Regions from separate parts of the Homo sapiens genome. Here region 1 is linked to region 2. The links are contacts of gene promoters, found by promoter capture Hi-C in human tissues and cell types (Jung and others, 2019). All regions are on one chromosome and are shown on one strand. The core of a region is centred on a gene start or on the middle of the fragment in contact, and the rest is flanking DNA. Distances in the headings are between cores, read along the strand shown.

Region 1 (3,225 bases), core at 556-3,055, 37 kb before region 2:
CCTTACTTTATTATTATTATTTTTTATTTTTTTAGTATTTATTGATCATTCTTGGGTGTTTCTCGGAGAGGGGGATTTGGCAGGGTCATAGGACAATAGTGGAGGGAAGGTCAGCAGATAAACATGTGAACAAAGGACCTTACTTTATTATTGGCAGAAGGTTTCAGTTCCTTGCCATGTGGGACTCTTCCTAGGGCTGCTTAAGTGTCCTGACATCTTGGTTTCTGGTTTTCCCCCAGGAGAGTGATCCAAGAGAGAGCGCATGGAGAAAGCCACAGTGCTTTCCTTTTCTTAGAGACAGGATATTGCTCTGTTGCAAAGACTGGAATGCAGTGGTGCAATCATTACTCACTGTAACCTCTAACTTCTGGGTTCCAGCCATCCTCCTGCCTCAGCCTCCCACCTCACTGGAACTACAGGCACGTGCCACCATGCCTGGCTAATTTTTAAAGTTTTTTGTACAGACAGGGTCTTGCTATATTTCCCAGGCTAGTCTCAAACTCCTGTCCAAAAGCGACCCTCCCGCCTTGGCCTCCCCAAGTGCTAGGATTACAGGTGTGAGCCCCTTGCACAGCTGCACATGCTCTGTATGTCCTGATCTTGAATATCACACACTGTCACTTCTGCCACATGCCATTCACTAAGCAAATCACTAGGGATAGCTCATGCTTGAGGGGATGAGGGAGTGGAAATGGGCTCCACTTTTTTTTTTTTTTTTTTTTTTTTGAGATGGAGTCTGGTTCTGTCACCTAGGCTGGAGTGCAGTGTCCTGATCTCAGCTTATTGCAACTTCCACCTCCCAAGTTCAAGTGATTCTCCTGCCTCAGCCTCCCTAGTAGTTGGGATTACAGGTGTGTGCCACCACGCCTGGCTAATTTTTTTGCATTTTTAGTAGAGACGGGGTTTCACCATGTTGGCCAGGCTGGTCTCGAACTCCTGGCCTCAGGTGATCCACCCGCCTCGGCCTCCCAAAGTGCTGGGATTACAGGCATGAGCCAGCTCCACCTTTTTTGTGGACATATTTTAGAACACCACACTCTCTTACTCAAATTTCCTTTCCCAGCTTCCTTACACACTGCCATTTTACTCACAAGGCAAACACGCCTTATCAGTTTAGTAGAAAATAAGAGGTAAAGTTTCATGCTAAAGATGGAATTTTTAGTGCTACAATGACAAGGACATCCATCCTTGTCATTTTGCAGTTACTGTAAACATTGCAAAATGTGAATTGCATATATTAGAAGTGATGCATACTGTGACACATTCATCATTTTTTCAATTTTCTCAGGTAGATATTTACCATACTCTTCCAGTTATATCCTCTTAGAACTAGCGTTTGTGTCTTACCAACATGTTTGATAGTCCAATATGCTGATTTTTGAAGATAGATGTAGTATAAAAAAGAAAAGGGGGATTCAAAGCCTAGGTTTACAGAAACTTCCCTTTTTTCCTTTTTCTTCTTTTTTTTTTTTTTTCCTTTCTTTTTTGTGATGGAGTCTCAATCCATCACCCAGGCTGGAGTGCAGTGGCATGATCTCGGTTCACTGCAACCTCCACACCCCAGGTTCAAGTGATTGTCCTGCCTCAGCCTCCCAAGTAGCCAGGATTATAGGCGTCTGCCACCACTCCTGGCTAATTTTTGTATTTTTAGTAGAGACGGGGTTCTACCACGTTGGCCAGGCTGGTCTCGATCTCCTGACCTCAGGTGACCCACCCACCTCAGCCTCCCAAAGTGCTGAGATTATAAGCATGAGCCACTACACTGGCATTTTTTTTTTTTTTTTAAGAGACAAGGTCTTGCTATGTTGCCCCCAGGCTGGTCTGTGGTCTGGAACTCCCAAGCTTAAGGTGTCTCGGCTTCCCAAGTAGCTGAGATTACAGGCACTCATCCCTGCACCTGGCTACGACACTTCTCAAATTAGCGATGAGAAATTTCAGTTTTCTGAGTCATTTCAATGCACTAGAGGACAATGGACACAAAAAAGTTCATCTACATAATTAAAGATATTTGTAAATGGGCTTTACATGGGCTTTGAGTTTTCTGTTCATTTGTGTGTCATCTGTGGTGAGCAACTTACACATTCAGCAACGGCTCCCACAAAAGTGAAAAGACACTCGACTACAAATCATAGTCATTTGACAAGTAAACGGGCTGATTATTGTAAGTAGTTACTGGAATCTTCAAACAGACTAAAGTTTTTAAAAGTCACAAGCAGAAAAAAGGCTCAGGAAAAAAATTATTTAGTAGCAGAATTATTGCCTAGGATAGGAAAAGTCATACAGTTAATGAGACACTAACAATGCCAGATGGAAACTTAGAGTTGAGCAGACTCTAGAACAATATGCAGCATGAGAAATGGGAGGATTTTGCTCCCCCAAGTGCAACAAGGCCCCCTGTTAATGACATTGTTACCTAATGCCAAAGAGGTTTTATGTAATACAGTAAAATTAACAACATCTTTATCCAGACTGAGTCAAGAGATGTCACCAATAAATATAATACCTTAACATTTGTAATATTTGTAAATTGCAATAAAATTCAAGATCACTTTTCCTCTGTAAAGAGGTGCCGCAAAATCCATCAAGAAAATGTAGCAATTACACACATATATGCAGCTAACAACAGAAATGCAAAATATGTGAAGCCAAAAAATGAAAGAATTGAAGAGAGAAATAGACAATTTGACAATAATAGTTGAAGACTTATATGCTTCATTTTCAATAATGGGTAGAACAACTAGACAGAAGGTCGACAAGGAAATAGAAGACTTGAACAGCGCTAGAAACAAACTAGACTTAACAGACATCTACAGAACACTTCACCCAGCAAAAGTGGAATCAAAATTTTTAAGTGCACATGGAACACTCTAAAGATAGATCATATGACAGGTCATAAAACAAACCTCAATAAATTTAAAAGGACAGAAATAATACAAATTATGTTCTCCAATTACAATTAAATGGAAATAGAAATCAATGGAGAGAAATTCGGTATATCCACAAATAGGTGGAATTTTTTTTTAATTACTGACTTGAAGCTCATATAGGTGGAAATTAAACAACACACTTCCAAATAACGATTTAGTCAAGAAAGAATTTTTTTTTTTTTTTTTTTTTGAGACAGAGTCTCGCTCTGTCATCCAGGCTGGAGTGCAATGGCGTGATCTTGGCTCACTGCAACCTCCGCCTCTCAGGTTCAAGCAATTCTCCTGTCTCAGCCTCCGA
Region 2 (3,196 bases), core at 588-3,087:
CAAAGAGTATGATTCTATGTATGTACATCAGAATATCTGTAAATACGTTTACATATGTTCATAACTGCCTAGGAAAGTGTCTGGAAGGATATATACCAAACTAGTGACAGTGGTTAACCAGAGGCAGTTAACTGAAAGTGGTTAATTAGAAGGGTCCTGTGTCCTGAGGGGGAAAGAGGAACTTTTACTTGTTACTCGATACTGCTCAAGATACATCTGTTATTTGAAAACGCTTTATGAGACTGTACTCATGTATTGTGTAAAAAATTAGAAAAGGCATATCTGCTTGTTATAAAGTTCATAGAAACCAGAAAACTATCTCCTTTCACTTATCCTTTCCCAGAAATAGTCATTGATAATAATTTGCATCTTCTCAGATTTTTTTCTACGCAGAAATAAATGTGTATAATTTTTTTAAAAACAAAAATAAAATAGTGAGTGTCATATATAGTGTTTCATTTAAAGATGTTCCTCCAAAATCAATCTTGGTCCATGTGCCTGTGTGTGTGTGTGTGTGTGTGTGTGTGTGTGTGTGTGTGTGTGTGTGTATGGGTGGGGGGAGGGGCGGGGACACTGCATAGAACTGGCCAGCTGCATGGACTGTCACTGTAAAGAAAGATGAAGAATGCATGTCACCAAGCTCTCTGATGCTTTGAACCTAGCATATGTGGCTTTGCCCATATGTGCGGGCACCTCTGTAGAAACTCTTCTGCCAGTTGGGCTGAAAATAGTTTTACATAGTTCCATACTGCCTTCCAAGCTGTTTTCAAAGTTTATGCTCTAATAGTTCCCCACGGAGGATAACACAAGATATTCATTTTCCTCAAACTTTCCCGCACAGGTTGGAGAGAAACGACATCTTAATGTCATTGTAACAGGCATTTCTTTATTAAAAAAATTTTTTTTTTGGAGACAAGGTCTTGCTATGTTGCCCAGGCTGGTCTCAAACTCCTGGGCTCCAGCGATCCTCCTGCCTAGGCCTCGGGAGTAGATGGAACTCCAGGCGCGGGCCGTGGCGCTCGCACCACAGGCATTACTTAGGTATGAGGCTGGTTGAGCATTTTTCTCGTGTTCACTGGCTACTCACGCAGCTTTGTGAATGGCTTCGGAGATCACTGGACAGGCAATTTTCCCTCTCAATGAACCAAATCCAAATTCTTTTGGAACCCAAGACCGCGATTTTTCGATTTAGGACCTAGTCCCAAACAATGAAGAAAAGGTGATCTTCAAGATTTCAGCAGGGAAATCTGTATATCTGTACAAGGTTGAAAACCTGGGCCGGGGGTCGCGTTGGAACCCCACAGGAAAAAGGCGCGGAAAGCCGCCGGGCATTTTCCGGGGTTCCATAGATGTCCCCAGTGTCCTAGTCCGTGCATCAGCTCGCGCACTCGGAGGGACTCTAGGCAGGGGGAGGGCCCCGCGGCCAGTATGTGCGTCCGAGGCTTTCCCGCAGGGGGCAGTGCCGCCCGCCCGCGCGCCGATACGGTGGGAGGGGGTGGGAACCTGCGCGGAGTTCTGGAGGTTCTTTGGGAGAAAGTTAGGGGATGCGGAGGGGTGGGCGCAAGACTTCCAGGACTCCAGGGAGGCCGTGGGGAGGGCCGCCGAGGGTGCAGTGTGAGGCGCAGGAGGGGGTTGGGGGCGGTGCACGTTGCAGGGAGACGCAGCCCCTGGAAGATGCGAGTGTGAACGTGTGAGTGTGAGTGCGTGTGTATGTGTGTGTGTGCGCGCGCACCGCAGCTCTCCGGGTTCCGCGAGGCGCGCGGGTGTCAGCTTGCAGCCGGGGCTCCTCCCTCCGGCCCCCCTGCCCAGCCCGGCGGTCCCTCCTCCCTCCCTCCCCGCTCGCCCCTCCCCGGCGGGCCAGGGGCTGGGACGCCCCGGCGGAGCAGGCGGCGGCGGTGGCGAGTTGGGGAGCCCTAGGCTCGGCGCTGCCGGAGGGGCCCGAGCCGAGCCGCCTGCGCCCCGGCCGGGCAGCGCCGGGCCCGCTTCCCGCGGGGCCACGCCCTGTCAAACTTTGTTGCGGCGGCTAGCGCAGCGGGCCCGCAAGCGGGCGGGAGGGGCGCCGGGCCGGGCCGGGCAGGGCGCGGGCGGCTAGGGGCTCCGAGAGCGGCGGCCCCGGCCCGCGGCCCCACCATGCCCCAGCTCGGCGGCGGGGGCGGCGGCGGCGGCGGCGGCAGCGGGGGAGGCGGCGGCTCCAGCGCCGGGGCGGCCGGCGGAGGGGACGACCTCGGGGCGAACGACGAGCTGATCCCCTTCCAGGACGAGGGGGGCGAGGAGCAGGAGCCGAGCAGCGATAGCGCCTCGGCGCAGCGGGACCTAGACGAGGTCAAGTCGTCCCTGGTCAACGAGTCGGAGAACCAGAGCAGCAGCTCGGACTCGGAGGTAAGGAAGCACCGCGGCCACCCCCGGGGGATCCCGGCCCTGCGTCCGCTCACCCGCTCTTGCCTTTGTGTCTCCTCCGCAGGCGGAGAGGCGCCCGCAGCCCGTCCGGGACACTTTCCAGAAGCCGCGGGACTATTTCGCCGAAGGTATGTGCCCGCTGGGACAGCCCCCCACTCTCGATTCCCGCTGCGCTCCGCTGCTCAGCCCGGGCGGCCCACCGTCCCCCTTGCTTGGGTGGACGCACCCTTGCCCTCCGCCTTTATTGGCGGCAGCCCCCGTGGGGCGCGCGTGGGGGGCGCTGGGGTCCCCAGCTCCCGCCTCGAGCCCCCTGCCGCGGCGCTGTCAGTCCCGGGGGCCTGGGCCTCACCTCGCCTTGGTCTTGTTCGCAGTGAGAAGGCCTCAGGACAGCGCGTTCTTTAAAGGACCCCCGTACCCTGGGTACCCCTTCCTGATGATCCCGGACCTGAGCAGCCCGTACCTCTCCAACGGACCCCTGTCTCCCGGAGGAGCGCGCACCGTGAGTGCCCGTCGGGCGCGCCGGGGAGGGTGGGAGGCCGCGGCCCGCAGGATGCGCCCCCGGGCTTGGCCATGGAGTGGGGGATGGGGCCTTCTGCGCCGATCCCAAGCAGAACTTGTTTGCGGAGTTGAACTACTCTCTGGCGGCCGAGCGCGAGGCTGCGCTGGCCAGTGCCTGGATGAAAGTAAAGTTACTTTAACTTTTCCCCTCTTGCGGGTTGAGGTTTTGGAGTCCACCTCTGGGATCTTCCTTGGCCTCCAGAATTCTTCGCCTGCACCGAAGGAAACTTGGATTTGTGCC

The links. Contacts are between HindIII fragments. The study calls those that stand out against the background at their distance.
Region 1: a fragment that was not itself captured here is called in contact with the fragment with the promoter of TCF7L1 in region 2 in 2 of the 25 tissues and cell types used here (spleen and stomach).

Annotation. Positions count from the first base shown.
Region 1 is chr2:85,094,979-85,098,203 of GRCh38, forward strand. No RefSeq gene overlaps it. Among named protein-coding and RNA genes, the nearest start is that of LINC01964, 29 kb to the left of the region's middle. The HindIII fragment of the contact is 8,686 bases long and covers 1-3,225 here.
Region 2 is chr2:85,131,555-85,134,750 of GRCh38, forward strand. It overlaps TCF7L1 (transcription factor 7 like 1), which reads left to right and starts at 1,838. Exons shown (of 12, transcript NM_031283.3): 1 at 1,838-2,379; 2 at 2,462-2,525; 3 at 2,769-2,896. The coding sequence starts at 2,131. RefSeq lists a silencer at 1,438-1,507 and enhancers at 1,873-2,447, 3,023-3,196. The HindIII fragment of the contact is 29,167 bases long and covers 1-3,196 here.